3 separate regions of the Homo sapiens genome follow, and all the other regions are linked to region 1. Evidence: promoter capture Hi-C in 16 types of primary human blood cells and fetal thymus (Javierre and others, 2016). All regions are on one chromosome and are shown on one strand. Each heading gives the region's core, a stretch centred on a gene start or on the middle of the fragment in contact. The rest is flanking DNA. Distances are from core to core; before and after follow the strand shown.

Evidence for each region. Contacts are between HindIII fragments. The CHiCAGO score rates a contact against its expected background, and 5 or more counts as called.
Region 2: a contact is called between a fragment that was not itself captured here and the fragment with the promoter of ARID1B in region 1, in 1 of 17 cell types (monocytes). The highest score is 5.8, in monocytes.
Region 3: a fragment that was not itself captured here is called in contact with the fragment with the promoter of ARID1B in region 1 in 2 of 17 cell types (naive CD8 T cells and M0 macrophages); the score reaches 6.0 in naive CD8 T cells.

The regions. Positions count from the first base shown.
Region 1 is chr6:156,775,259-156,780,182 of GRCh38, reverse strand. ARID1B (AT-rich interaction domain 1B) reads right to left here and starts at 2,805. Exons shown (of 20, transcript NM_001374828.1): 1 at 712-2,805. The coding sequence starts at 2,502. It overlaps LOC115308161 (a long non-coding RNA gene), which reads left to right and starts at 1,665. Exons shown (of 2, transcript NR_163974.1): 1 at 1,665-1,937; 2 at 2,752-3,823. It overlaps MIR4466 (microRNA 4466), which reads left to right and starts at 452; the gene lies at 452-505. RefSeq lists silencers at 1,552-1,781, 2,032-2,101, 2,172-2,321, 2,472-2,711, 2,732-3,081 and 3 more and an enhancer at 1,053-1,588. The HindIII fragment of the contact is 6,833 bases long and covers 1-4,924 here.
Region 2 is chr6:155,305,029-155,309,952 of GRCh38, reverse strand. All of the region lies in intron 2 of TFB1M (transcription factor B1, mitochondrial), which reads left to right. Among named protein-coding and RNA genes, the nearest start is that of TFB1M, 7.0 kb to the left of the region's middle. The HindIII fragment of the contact is 1,578 bases long and covers 1,943-3,520 here.
Region 3 is chr6:155,322,984-155,327,907 of GRCh38, reverse strand. No RefSeq gene overlaps it. Among named protein-coding and RNA genes, the nearest start is that of TFB1M, 11 kb to the right of the region's middle. The HindIII fragment of the contact is 534 bases long and covers 2,656-3,189 here.

The sequences.
Region 1 (4,924 bases), core at 1,556-4,055:
CCAATAATGGATTTCCCTGGCTATTCTAAGGAACGAATCGATGTATTTTACAATATTGCACCTCCATGTCGTTGTAAATTTTGTTATTATTCCTACCAGCAAACGTTCGAGCTCGAAGCCCGCACCGAGTGTCTCTGAATGGCTCTCCCTAAGTAGGAAAAACCCACTCGCTTGTCACAAAGCTAACCTATTTTCCCTGCCTGGACCTCGGAAGCCAAGAGGGAACGTGCTGTGGCTAAAGGTGTGAGAAAGTTCCTCATTCTTTCCCCCGTTAAAGCACATTGTGGGCGCTCCCAGAACCGATCGGGTGGCTCTTCGCCCCAGCCGTCCTGGCCGGGAGAGCCTATTTGTTACAAAAGCACCCGAACGGTCCCCGCCGCCCCAAACGGCGACCGCGCGGGTGGCGCCTCGGGATCTCGCTTCGCGTTCCCGGGCCTGGGGGAGGGGGGGGACGCGGGTGCGGGCCGGCGGGGTAGAAGCCACCCGGCCCGGCCCGGCCCGGCGAAGCCCTCCCAGGCCTGGACAGCGCGCCGGCCCCCGGGGCGCCCCGACCGCGGCGGGAGGCGGCCGCCCGTCAAGATGGCTTTGGGCGCCGCGCCCCCGCCGCCCCCGCGGGAAGACGGGGAAAAGTACGCGGCAAAGAAAGAAACTCAGGCTCGCGGCGCGGCGAGGCCGCCGGGCGGAAGCAGGCCCGGCTGGCGCGAGGGTTACCTGGGATCTGCCCATGGTCGGTCCGGGGGTGCCGGGGCTCATCGCCGGGTGACTCCTTTGTTGCGCGGCCGCCCAGGCCGGGCTGGCAGCGGCGTACTGGGCGCCCATGTCCTTGCCCAAGCCCATGCCCGCGGCCGCCTGCTGGCCGCCCGCCGCCGCCCCCGCCGCCGCCGCCTGGGACTGGGGCTGCGACGGCGGCGGCGGCGGCGCGCTGGGGCTGCTGTACTCGGGGTAGCTGCCGCCGTAGCTCCGCATCATGGGGCTGGGCGAGGTGAGCAGCTGATTGAGGGTCGGGGTGGCCCCCGACGGGTGCTGGTTCTGGCCGGCGAAGCGCTGGAAGCCCCCCGCCGCCGAGCCGGCGGCCGCCTTGCTGAGGCTCGCGGCCCCGCCGCCCCCGGGGCCCATCATCATGCCGCCGCCCTGCTGCCGGGGGGAGCTCAGCACCCCGTACCCCGCGGACGAGCCCCCATAGCCGCCGCCGCCGCCGCCTCCTGCTGCTGCCGCCGCCGCCGCGGCCGCCGCCGCCACAGCTCCCGCTCCTGCTCCTCCTGCTCCTGCTCCTCCTCCTCCTCCTCCTCCTCCGCTGCCTCCTCCTCCTCCGCCGCCGCCGCCGCCGCCGCCGCCCGCGCCGGGCCGGCTGTAGCCCGGATAATGGTTGCACTGGCTGTTGGGGTACCCTTCGTGGGAGTTCTGCAGGGGGTCCATGCTGCCGGGGGCCCCGGCGGCGGCGGCGGAGGCGGAGTGCATCATCCCCATCCCGGGGCTTTGTTGTCCGCCATGTTGATCAAAGCAAGGCCCAGCGCGGCCGCCGGGGCCGCCGCTCGCAGGGGCAGCGCTGCCATAGTAATTATTAAACTCCGGGACGGCCGCCGGGCCGCCGCCGCCCCCGGGCACGGCGACCGGCGGCTGCTGCGTGCCCAGGGCGCCCAAGCCCGGGTGCTCGTAGCGGCCGCCCGCCGGCTCCCCCATCTTGGGCGGCGCGTCGTCCTCGTCGCCCGGCTTGCTCAGCAGCGGCGGGCCCGGGGGGTCGGCCTGGCCGCCCGCAGCACTGTCCTTGGCGCCTCCATGTTGCGGCTGCTCCATGTCGGGGCCGGGCTGAGGCGCGCCGCCGCCCGCGCCGCCCAAGCTGTTGTTGTTGGAAATGGGATGTTGCTGTTGCTGCTGCTGCTGCTGCTGCTGTTGCTGCTGCTGCTGCTGCTGCTGGAACTGGTTTAGCTGCTGCTGTAGTGCGTGGTGGTGGTGGAGGTGGTGGGCATGGTGGTGGTGGTGGTGGGCATGGTGGTGGTGGTGGTGCTGCTGGTGGGGCGGCGCGGCGGGGGCTTCGCCAACGGTTTTCAGTTTGTGGTTGGGGAGCAGCCCCGTCTCCATGGCCGAGCCCGGGCCCGACGAGGAGGAAGAGGATGCCGCCGCTGCCGCCGCGGAGGAGGAGGAGGAGGAGGACAGCGCGGCGGCGCTTCCACCCTCCTTGAGAGCCGCCTCGGAGCCGCCGCTCTTGGCGCTGTGGGTGCCGGCGGCGGCCGCGGCGCCCGCGTTATGGGCCATGTTGAGTTCGTGACGGGGGAGCAGGGGGTGGTGGTGCACACTGTTCAGGCCGCCGCCGCCGTCGCCGCCGCCCCCCAGCATGGGTCCCGGTGCCGCCGCCGCCGCCGCCGCGCCGCGCGCCCCCGCCTCCAGGTCCCGGGCTCCGGGCGCCGGCCGCGGCCCGGGGGGCGCCCGCCGTTCGCCGCTGCCTGCCCGCGCCCGCGCCCGCGCCGCCGCCGCCGCCGCCGCCGCTGCTGCCCGCGCGGCCATGATCGCCGCGGCGTGGCGAGGCCGGGCGGGGGGCGGGGGGAGACAATAACCCCCACTTTTCAGGCCGCGGCCCCTCCTGTGCGCATCCACGCGGCCCGCCGGGAAGCCGCGACCCCCTCCCCCTCCGCAGGCCCCGCCGGAGCGCCGGGCCGGGCACGCCTTACGCTCTGGGCCTGCTCCTGCTGTGTGCTTTCATGGTGAAAGTTTTTAGTTCAGGTTTAAATGAAACTTTTCTCTTTTCCTCTCTAGCCCGGATATGGGTAAATACACGACTAGCTGAGCCTATCGGGCCCAGCATGGCTTGAGAGGCAGCGGGCGAGCTCGAGCAACTATTATCCACTTCGCTCGCATTACTCCCGCGCACTCGCAAAACGCGGACTGGACTCGTCCCCGGGCCGCCGCCGCCCGCCCCGGCGCAGCCTCGCGGGACCCAGCCGGGCTTGGGCTAAGGCTGGGGCCGGGGCCGGGGCCGGGGCGGCTCGGCGGCCGCTCGGAGCGCGGCGGCGTGGGGCGGCCGGAACCTGCACTTTCCCCCCGGGCCGCTGTCTCCTTGCCAACCGGGCGTTCGCATGTTTGTTTTCACGTCTAAAAGGAACGATACAAAGGTGGAAAACGAGTCTGACGAGCAGACAAAAGAGGGAGAAGGGCTGGGAAACAAAGTTGTCTATTGGCCTCAGAGGTTACAAGGAGCCGACGGAGAAAGAAAATATTTAGGCAATCTGCAAAAGCACGGTCTCTCCCAGGAGTTATGTAATTTTCAGAACGTTCGCCTCTGCCTTGATTTCGGGCCATCGGCGTAATTCCCACAACTTCTTCCAACTGCAAAATTAGGAAAGATTTGAAATGAAGGTTAGCCCCGGTCAGAGAGCCCTATGGCCTGTACCCAGTAGGTACTCAATAAATGCTTATGACTGACTGCACCCGCCCCAAAGAGAATGTTTACATAACTCTTTTTGAAGGCACCTTAAACACGTATGTAGGTTTGTCAGTGTATTTCCAAAGGAATATGTCCACGTATTCCCAAAGGAGCATTTTTCTTACATGCACTTGGATGTCCTCTGTGGAGTATGTACAGTGGTGTTTTCTGCGCCAACTTTCACATGAACATTTAACTCTTGGTGCCAGAACAGCGACAGCTATGGGTTAGCTCGTATCTTCATAAATCTATATGACACCTTTCATCATGTTTCAGAGCTTCGTGTGCACAGTTAACCCTCTCGATATACATTCATTTCAAAGAGATGTGGAACGAAACTAAAATATTATAGACATTATATTTAATAAATATAACTTCAATAATAATATAAAACAGTCAACTCTAGTCCTAATGTAGAAATGTTCCATACTTTGTTCTCTTAAAAATTGGTGTCTATTAACATTTTATAATGTTTTTAATATTTGCATTGTTATTAATGTTTTCAATATGTGCATTGTCCCCTAGTAACATTTTAAAAAGCAAGACTTCTTAACCTTAGGCAATGACCCACTTGTACTAGTGTGGACTCAGTTTTCATTGAGAGAAAGCATTTAAAACCTGGCAGAAACAATACTTACGGTTTTGGTAGAGTATAGTTTTCCAAAATTATTTCATTCTTCAGCTTTCCATAAAAACTATTTTAGTTCATTTCCACTGCAGCAGTGGTTATTTGTTTGACCAAGTGTAAATATGTTACATGACTAAATAGAAAAGGATTGATGGGAAAACTGGTGACTAATTGGGGTCGGGGGGAGGGAATCAGGTGCACACCCAAGGGTCATTATAGAGTGTAGAAACAACAAATTGCAATTCTACGCAAACAACTGGAAAACGGGATATATCATCGTGTGTTAGAGAGAATAACAGAACCATAAGATGAATTCGTGCCAAATCATTCATCAGTTTTTGCCAAGAGAATACTACATCTTTGTTAGTGTGCCTTTTTGACATTTTTTCCTGGATTTTCTCCCTTTATATATTCAAATACATACTAATTATACGCATTACACCACAGAAGTTGAATTTTTAGTTTTTCATATGCAAATATAAATATATGTCTGTTTTGTGTGTATATACATATATTCTAAAATCAATTACATATTTATGCTTTTAGACATAGTCAAACTAAGTATGTACACATCATCCTAAAAGTGCATTTTTTCAAATTGATAAAATATATCAAAGTCAGTTCATACAAGTGTAGCCATATGTTGTGGCTTATTTTCACAACTAATCCTAAAAGGGAAAATGAGTCACCAAGTTCAGCTATGGCCCTTTTCCTTAAAATATTTTTTCATATTGGCAAATCGTGAAACTAAAAAAAAATTAGTAGAGAAGTCAAAATCTCTTTTAATTCCATTTGCTTCAGCAAGTCAACTAGAAGATTGGAACTAAGAGACTATAAAATAGAGGCCCCCAGCACAATGAAATCAGTCTGCTATAAAA
Region 2 (4,924 bases), core at 1,482-3,981, 1.5 Mb after region 1:
AGTCTATACTAACAGAATTGGTTTCAGATACTAAACTTTATGTTGAGATAGTCACATGGCACATATTCCTTGATCAAATGTGGAATTTAATAGTGATTTTTGTTTTGAACTGTGTTCTTATTTTAAGAATTATATATAAGTTGGAGGTGGACGTGGGAATATTATTATTTTTGGTGAGATCATGAGATTATAAAAAGAAACTAAATAACTGTATAATCCCCTTCGGGCTTATTCGTGTAGCCCTTTTTGGACATAGGGAATACTCACCTGACTTTTTTGCTCTTAAAAAGACTTCTTGTCCCTCATATCTCACCATTCGTTGGGTTTATTCTTTCTTATTAGGCCAGGGGGTGAACCAGATTTCCATTCATTCCCACATATTCCCCTCTTTGATATGAACAAAAGATCTTTGAAGGCAGATTGTTGAAAAGAGCGACTGCCACCCTTCTCTTCTCAGTTTCCCCCAAACCCATAAGTCACTGCGTTCCTAATTCCAGCCTTGTTTTATCTCATTCGATTTATCATCATCTGACATACTGTATATATGTTCTTCCCATTTGTTTGTTAATTGACTCACCTGTCTGGAATGTAAGTACCATGAGGGTAGAAATGTGTGTCTGTTTTGTTCCCTGCTGTACCTCTATCTCACGTAACAGTGCCTAGCACATAGCAGGTGTTCAGTAAATGTCTCACATGAGAAACAAAAAAGTTGACCACTATTTCTGCATCTGTGTATATATATACACAAATGTATATGTATCTCTCATATTAATTAAATGTATCATTAAATAGTGAAAGTAAATATTTGTGTAGCATTGATAATGAAAAAGTTTTATGCTCTTTTTTCTAAATGTGAAGGCTGATTTCAAGTTAAATTACTCTAGAGGAAATGTATATTTGACTTCTCATTTGTTTTTAGTAGAAACAAAATTAATTCTTAGTATCTTATATGCAGGAAAGGAATTTGCCTTAAAAAGAAATGTTGGGTACTAAAATATCAAATAGGCCTTTTTTTCCCCAGTGAGGAATGTTTCAATATGTAAAACTACTTTGTTTTAGAGGTACTAAATTAATCATAAAACTGAGTAAAAGCAGAAAGAAGGTGATCTATTTTAAGGATACCATTTTAGTGATTTCTAAGCTAATAGAATTACTTTTTAAAGAAATTGTAATAATTTATAAAATACCTTCTAGCTGAAAGCCTGTCATTTGTAGCTTAATTCAATTCCTACAGTATTTTCATGAGGCAGTTTAGGGGAAAGAAAAACTGGTGCTAACATACAGGATTCATGCTCAGCATGTTATAAAGGTAAGAAAAACATGTCTAGTATGTTTAGTATAGTATAGTTTTGTGGTAAAGACGCAGACTTCAGCATCAGACTGCCTGGGTTTAACTTCAGATTCTACTACTAGTTGGGTGACTTTGGGTAGGTAATTTTGTCCTCTGTGCCTCAGTTTGCTCTTAGGACTCATATGAGGATTCAGTGTATGCCTGATACTTAGAAAGCACTGAATAATATCTTAGTTATAAGTAATCAGTTAAATTATTATCCCCATGCCTTGATTACCTCTGGTGATTAATGACTGATCAGGAGACTGCTGATCTGGAAAGAGGTATAGGAGGAAGTCGTGTTATTCCATTGGAGCACTAGAAAATTCTCCAGTGCTATGGAAACATTGGGGTGTTTTCCAACTCATCAAACTTGCATTGGACACCTAGGGTTTCTTTTCTTGATGTTGTCACATTCTGATTGTGCATTTCTAGGTTTTTAAGTTTTTCGTTGTTTCTTGTTACATTTTTATGACTGACTGGATTCTCTGTGCTGTGGAGAGGAGTGAGGAGATTTCCTGAATCTCAAGGAGCTTGAGGCCTTGATAGGTTTTTCCTCTTTCTGAACTGGAAATAACTTAGATTTCCTGACATCTCAGGGAATTTGAAGCTTTGATAGGTTCTTCTCCATTTGTGAACTGGAGATAAATTCGTAAATCACTCGTACCCTTTCAGAGAAGTAGTACAGATTTCCTCTCATTTTTTTTTTTTTTCTGTTTATTTTAGAGCAAACCTGTGCAACACACGGCCCACGGGCTGCCTGCGGCCCAACACAAATTCTTAAACTTTCTTAAAACATTATGAAATTTGTTTTGCATTTTTTTTAAGCTCATCTGCTATCGTTAGTGTATTTTATGTGTGGCCCAGGACAGTTCTTCTTCCAGTGTGGCCGAGGGAAGCCAAAAGATTGCAATTGCACAGCACTGTTTTAAAGGCTTCATATATTAAAAATAATAATAGCTAATATTTATGGAGAGTTTATCACAGTAAATACTTTGTGATATGGTTTGGCTCTGTGTCCTCACCCAAATCTCCTCTTGTAGCTCCCGTAATTCCCATGTGTTGTGGGAGGGACTCAGTGGGAGATGATTGAATCATGGGGGTGGGTCTTTCCTGTGCTGTTCTCATGATAGTGGATGGGTCTCACAAGATCTGATGGTTTTAAAAATGGGAGTTTACCTGCACAAGCTCTCTCTTTGCCTGTTGCCATCCACGTAGGATGTGACTTGCTCCTACTTGCCTTCCGTCATGATTGTGAGGCCTCCCCCAGCCATGTGGAACTGTGAGTCTAAACCTCTTTTGTAAATTGCCCAGTCTCGGGAATGTCTTTATGAGCAGCAGCATGAAAACGAGCTAATACACTTTGTTTTACAGCTTTGTTGAGATACAGTTGATGCTCAGTAAACTGCACATACTTAAAGTGTACAAATTACTGAGGATTTGTCTGTGTGTATATGTGTGTGTGTGTGTGTGTGTGTGTGTGTGTATGTGTTTGAGACATGGTCTCACTCTGTCACCCAGGCTGGAGTGCAGTGACACAAGCACAACTCAACAGCTCACTGCAGCCTTGACCTCCTGGGCTCAAGCAATCCTCCCACTTCAGCCTCTTGAGTAGGTGGAACTACAGGTGCACACCACCATGCCTGGCTGAGTTTTGTATTTTTTTGTAGAAATGGGATTTCACCATTTCTACATGGTGGTCTCAAACTCCCGGGCTTAAGCAATCTGCCCACCTCAGTCTCCCAAGATGCTGGGATTACAGGCAAGAGCCACCGCGTCCAGTTAACTGAGTTTTGACATATATGTGATTGCATGAAACCATTATCACAATCAAGAAAATAAACACTCATCGTCCTCAGGATTCCTCATGTTTCTTTGTAATCTGTCCCTTCCTTCCCCCTTTATCTATCTCAGACAACCACTAATCTGCTGTCACTGTAGATTATTTTTTATTTTTCAGAATTTTATATAAATGGAATCATACAATATGTACTTTTTTTTTGGTCTGGTATCTTTTACTTAGCATAATTATTTTGCAGTTCATCCATGTTGAGGTGTTTATCAGTAGTTTGCTCCTTTTTATTGCTGAATAGCATTCCATTTTCTGAATATACCAAATTTGTGAATCTATTCACCTGTTGATAGACTTTGGGTTTTTCCCTTTTTTGGCTCTTATACTGTAATAAAGCTTTTATGAACATTCATATGCAAGTGTTTGTGTGGATACACACTTCCATTTCTCTTGAGTAAAGACCTAGGAGTAGAATATCCGGGTCCTGTGTAGAATATCCGGGTCCTGTGGTAGACGTATATTATACTTTTTACAGAAATACCAAATTGTTTTATAAGATGACTGTGCCATATTACATTCCCACCAGCTGTATTTCAGAGCTCCCATTGCTCCACATGCTTGCTCAGACTTGGTATGGTCAGTCTTTTTAATTTTAGCCATCCTAGTGAATATGTAATGGTATCCTCTTGTGGTTTTTATTTGCATTTCCCTAATAGATAATAATACTGGACATACGATGTGCTTATTTGCCATCTTTGTATCTTCTTTGGGGAATTATTTGTTCAAATATTTTTAGTACTTTTACTTTTTTTGTCTTATTGAATTTTAAGAGATATTTATATGGTTCAGATGTGAGGCTTTGTCAGATACAGATTTTACAAATGTTTTCTCAGCTGTGGCTTACCTTTTTATTTTCTTAACAATGTCTTTGAAGAACAGAAGTTTCATGTTTATGAAGTGCAATTTATCAGTTTTTTCTTCTAGACTTTATGCTTTTTATGTCTTATTTTTAAAATATTTGCCAAACCAAGATCACTAAAAATTTGTTTTATTTATATATAATTTAATATATATTTATATATATAAATATATAATTTAATATATATATAAATATATAATTTAATATATATTTATATATAAATATATAATTTAATATATATTTATATATATAAATATATAATTTAATATATATTTATATATATAAATATATAATTTAATATATATATATTTATATATAAATATATAATTTAATATATATATAAATATATAATTTAATATATATTTATATATATAAATATATAATTTAATATATATATAAATATATAATTTAATATATATTTATATATATAATTTAATATATATTTATATATATAAATATATAATTTAATATATATTTATATATATAAATATATAATTTAATAATATATTTATATATATAAATATACAATTTAATATATATTTATATATATAAATATACAATTTAATATATATTTATATATATAAATATATAATTTAATATATGTTTATATATATAAATATATAATTTAATATATATATATAAATATATAATTTAATATATATATAAATATATAATTTAATATATATATATAAATATATAATTTAATATATATATAAATATATAATTTAATATATATATAAATATATAATTTAATATATATTTATATATATAAATATATAATTATGTATATATATAAATATATAATATATAAATAATATAAAATTATTTTATAATTTTAGCTTTTACATTTAGGTCTTTGATACATTTTGAGCTAATTCTTGCA
Region 3 (4,924 bases), core at 1,673-4,172, 1.5 Mb after region 1:
ATATACCCCTCTATGTTTTACTGCCTTGGCTACAGGGATTTTATGTCTCTTATTTGGCATTGCTGTTTATTGTCACTTCCCCCATAATTCTGGTTTTTGCTGCCCTGTTTTTTTATCCTTTTGAAAGTCTTTCTTCACTATGCTAAGTCAAACTTTGAAACTCTTGGTAAATGCCATAAAATTTTTCTTAACATGGAACAAGATCGCCACCCAGTGGCCATGCTGAGCTTCACTCTATGCATTTTTCCAGATTTTTCCCCTCACACTTTTATTTATCTGGACTGCAGAACAGAGGTGTCCTTAAAGAATAGCCCAGCCCCTTCATTTTTCTGAGGAGAAAACTGAAGGTCAGAAAGGTTAACATTTGGTCAAGTCCACAATACCACAATAAGACCCATGCCTTAGGCCAGGCTTCAGTCCTCATGTTTTCAAGGACTACCTCAGAACTGGAGGTGACCTTCAGGATCAGCCAATCCAAGCCCTCTAACATACAGATGAGGACACTGAGGCACAGAGAAGAAAAATGGCTTCTCAAGATTTATGGAGCTGACTAAATGGGACAAAATTAACACTTAGCCTGATGTTCATTCTCCTACTTAGACCAATCTCATTTTAAATATTTTATTTTCCCCCTTGGATTATCATAATTCCAGCCTTTAATAGGTGACCATAGTAGATGAGCATAAAATGGTCAGCCCTTGCCTTCCTCAAAATGAATAAAGTTATGTAATGGGAACCGTCAGAAAGGTAAAATTCATTCTCATTAATGAACTGTTCATTGTTGGTATATCCAAAAATATTTCACCACTTTTGTTTATACTTAGGAGGTGATAGATTTAATTAAAGGCAATTAGAAATTCTAACTATGCCTTCTTTCAGTTTAAAGAGAATACTTGGCCAGGCTTGGTGGCTCACGCCTGTAATCCCAGTACTTTGGGAGGCCGAGGCAGGCGGATCACGAGGTCAGGAGATCGAGACCATCCTGGATAACATGGTGAAACCCCGTCTCTACTGAAAATACAAAAAATTAGCCGGGCATGGTGGCGGGCACCTGTAGTCCCAGCTACTCAGGAGGCTGAGGCAGGAGAATGGCGTGAACCCGGGAGGCGGAGCTTGCAGTGAGCCGAGGTCGCGCCACTGCACTCCAGCTTGGGCGACAGAGGGAGACTCCGTCTCAAAAAAAAAAAAAAAAAAGAATACTCATCTCTGGTTCAAAATGTCTTGATTCTAGAATTTCAGTACTTGGATTTGAACACTTCCTCTGGCAAGTTAGGGATGACTTCACATTGTCCACTAACTTCAAAATCCTCTTTATGGCATGAGAAAGATCCACAACATTGAAGAGTCCTTATCACTCTAAATAATTCTGAGTTCCTAAACTCAGGTGAATAAGATTCACAGAGGGTAGCGGATGCTGCCTGGCTTTGCCCCACCCCAGATCCGTATGGTCCTCCTGAGTTCATCTGCAGCTGTGATCCAGGCAAACTGACAGCTCCCCACCTCCCCTGCTGTCTTCCATGCCTGGGGGCTTTGGAGCCTCCCCAGCTTCTGGTGGGACAATGCTGAGTTGGGCTGCACACGGTTTTTCAAAAGATCCCCTGGGATTGAGCCCCAGTTGCCCTGGAGCCCTAACATGAAACTACTCCCTAACCCCTGGAATTGGCCTTTCTCCTTTTCCCATGGCATTTTCCCGACTTCCTCACTTGTGCTTCCTGGGATTACCTCTCCAGGAGGGGCAATTAAACAAACAACCTGCATCCACACCCTTGCCTCAGGGCCTGATTTTCAGGGAATACAAACAACTGACTCTGCATTGTAGAGAAGCCCTGTTTTGCCTTGATGACACATCTAGTCTCTAATAATGGTGTCCCAAGAGGTTGTTCAGTCTGGCCTTTCTCCCTGTATACAAGCAGATTAACTAGGAAGCATGAGAAGTTGAAATGTCAGGGCCTATCACTCGAACAAGCCATTTTCAAGCCTTGGGAAGGGCTCTAGAAATCTACTCACATGGTATATGTTTTTGTAAAATTTACAAAGGCAAGACATTTTAACCCTAGTCAGTCAAGACCACTGTCTCTTTTCAGGTTGTATTCTGGTGACGGAGAGTACTTTGGGAATCTAGCTAAAGGGGAAATTGAGTTAGAAATACACATTTTAACTGAAATTTGGCAAGATGTTTCAGAACATTTCAGTAAAATAAATGTAAAATTACAGACTCCTGTTGGGAGAATATGGAGTGTTCTTTCTGCTATCTTTAAATCAAGTATTTAAAGAACTGAGAGAAAATGTCAATAAAAAAGTAATAGAGTAAGACACAAAAGCAACAGAGTGAGCAATAAAATCAATAGAAATTATTTCAATATCAAGAAGTAAATTGCAACAAAAACATTCAGCATATCAAATGCAGTCAGAAGAATAGAGTAAAAATAATGATAGGCTTATGGATTATTTGATAACACAATTAATAAACACAAGTGAGTCATGTGAATACACTGGAAAAAATTAAATACCCCAATTTTTTGACACCAAATATTGATATCAATGAATAAAATATAAACTCAAAATACATCACCACAATGAGTACACCTATGACAAACTGGTTAATGACTGTCATTAATTCAAAGTACTCAACATAGGATAGTGCACTAGAAAGCTTGAAATGCCTTGAAAACAAACAGATCATATGTGCCAAAAACTTAATAGAGGTTTCCAAATTTGAGAACAGTCCTAACAATTTACATGACATTGTCAACTATGAGTTGTGAAAGCTATATGAAATGTTTCTAAATTATCAAAAATAAAAAACAAACTGTAATCCATCATGGTAGAAGAAAGACTAAATTATCTTTCTATTCTCTCTATGGAATGTTATTCCTAAAACATTATCATATGAAGATGAAACTAAAGAATTTGCTTTCAGAAATGGAAGGGAAAAATTATCAAAGAAGTCTGAAAGTAGGAAATTCGATTAAATATTAGGCTAAATAAAATAAAATGTATTCATTTACTTTTAAAATAAAAAATATTCTATTACTTTTCAGGATGTTGTTTTTTGTGCTGTTTGTCATTAAGTATCTGTCATTTCTTGTCAGTCCTTTTCTTAGTCCAAATAAATGGTTTTGATACTTAATTTTACATTTATAATGTGGTATTCTTTTCTTAAAGAAAGCCTCCTAAATTATATAAGCTTCCAGGACCATTTCTTCCCAAAGCTTCCTCTAACAGTGAAGGCCCTTTTTCCTGTAACAAAAAAAAAGAAGCAAAATGCTCTATGTTCCACTTAATACACAAGAAAAGGACATACACCACAAGACTCCCAAAAAGCCAATGCATATAAGAGAGTGGGAAAATAGTACACAACTTTTCTCACAGGACACGAATCATTACATTTTACAATAAATTAAGTTGAGAGTATATACATTTAAATTACATGCCTACCACATTTGTTAGTGACCTGCACTGCTAGTGGTTCCCAAACTTAAAAAGCAAACAAAAAAAGTCTGTCATCTGAGTTACAAAGATAGTCATGGCAAGCGAATGAAGGAAAACTGACAGAGATAATGGATCAGTATACCATGTTACACTCTTTAGGCTTAGGCACTAATAAGAAAGTAAGACAGTGTTTTACAAACAGCAGGTCATAACCCATTATTGGGCAGTAATAATTATTATAATAAGTTTTGTAACAATCACTTTTTAAAAGGCAAATAGTTTAGAAAATAGTTTGTAAAAGATTGCTTCACACATATAGAATGTTTTATCAAACTTTTAAATGTGTGGGTGGGTGGGTGTATACATAGGGTTACAATGTAAAAGGCATTTCTTACTGTGGGTCATGGTCTAAAAAGTTTGAATAATACATATGAGAAATAAAGGGTTGGGGCCGGGTATGGTGGCTCACGCCTGTAATCCCAGCACTTTGGGAGGCCGAGGTGGGTGGATCGCTTGAGGTCAGGAGTTTTCAAGACCAGCTTGGCCAACAGGGTGAAACCCTATCTCCACTAAAAACACAAAAATTAGCTAGGCGTGGTGGCACATGCCTGTAATCCCAACTACTGGGGAGGCTGAGCCAGGAGAATTGCTTGAACCTGGGAGGCAGAGATTGCAGTGAGCTGAGATCACACCATTGCACTCCAGACTGGGTGAAGAAGCGAGACTCTGTCTCAAAAACAAAAAACCAAAAAAACCGTTGGCTGTAGATCGAAGCACAAGAGAATAAGAATAACAGGGACAGTTACAAAAACTTGGTTTGGCAATCTGCAACAAATCATTCCTAAATTCATTGGAATTTGGTAGGCATTTTTCCTATAGAAATAGGAAGTCATTAAAATATGCTTTTGTAGTTTCACCTAGGAATCCATCATGACTTAAACACAGTTTAAACTAAAAATAAACTAAACTTTAAACTAAAAACAGTTTAAGCCATAATTGGATTCCTAGGTGAAACTACAAAAGCCTATTTAACTCGTAAATAATATATAAATTATAATATGATATGCTATGATAGGGTATGATGTTTATATTATATTATGACATGATATAATAAAACATAATGCAAGATAAATGAACTGTTGTAGTTATTATAGTCCTAAGCCAGCACTCTTCTTTCCTTCCCCATAGTCCCTACCATTTATAAGACTTTTAAGCAAACGGTTTTGAAGATAATCTAAAATTACAGGATTTCCATCACAACATAATGTATATAATTTCACAACACAATTTAACATTTTATTATGATAATTCAAGATTTTATATTTTGCACCTCCACTTGATTTGGTATAATTGTTACCTAAACCTTTCTGCTGAATTAGAAACCACTGACCCTTCCTCACTCCCATCCCCAAAAAGAACAAGAAAGGTGCCAAATAGGCCTAAAATGAATAGTTTCAAAGTGGACAACAGTTAAGATCAAATGATGCACTAG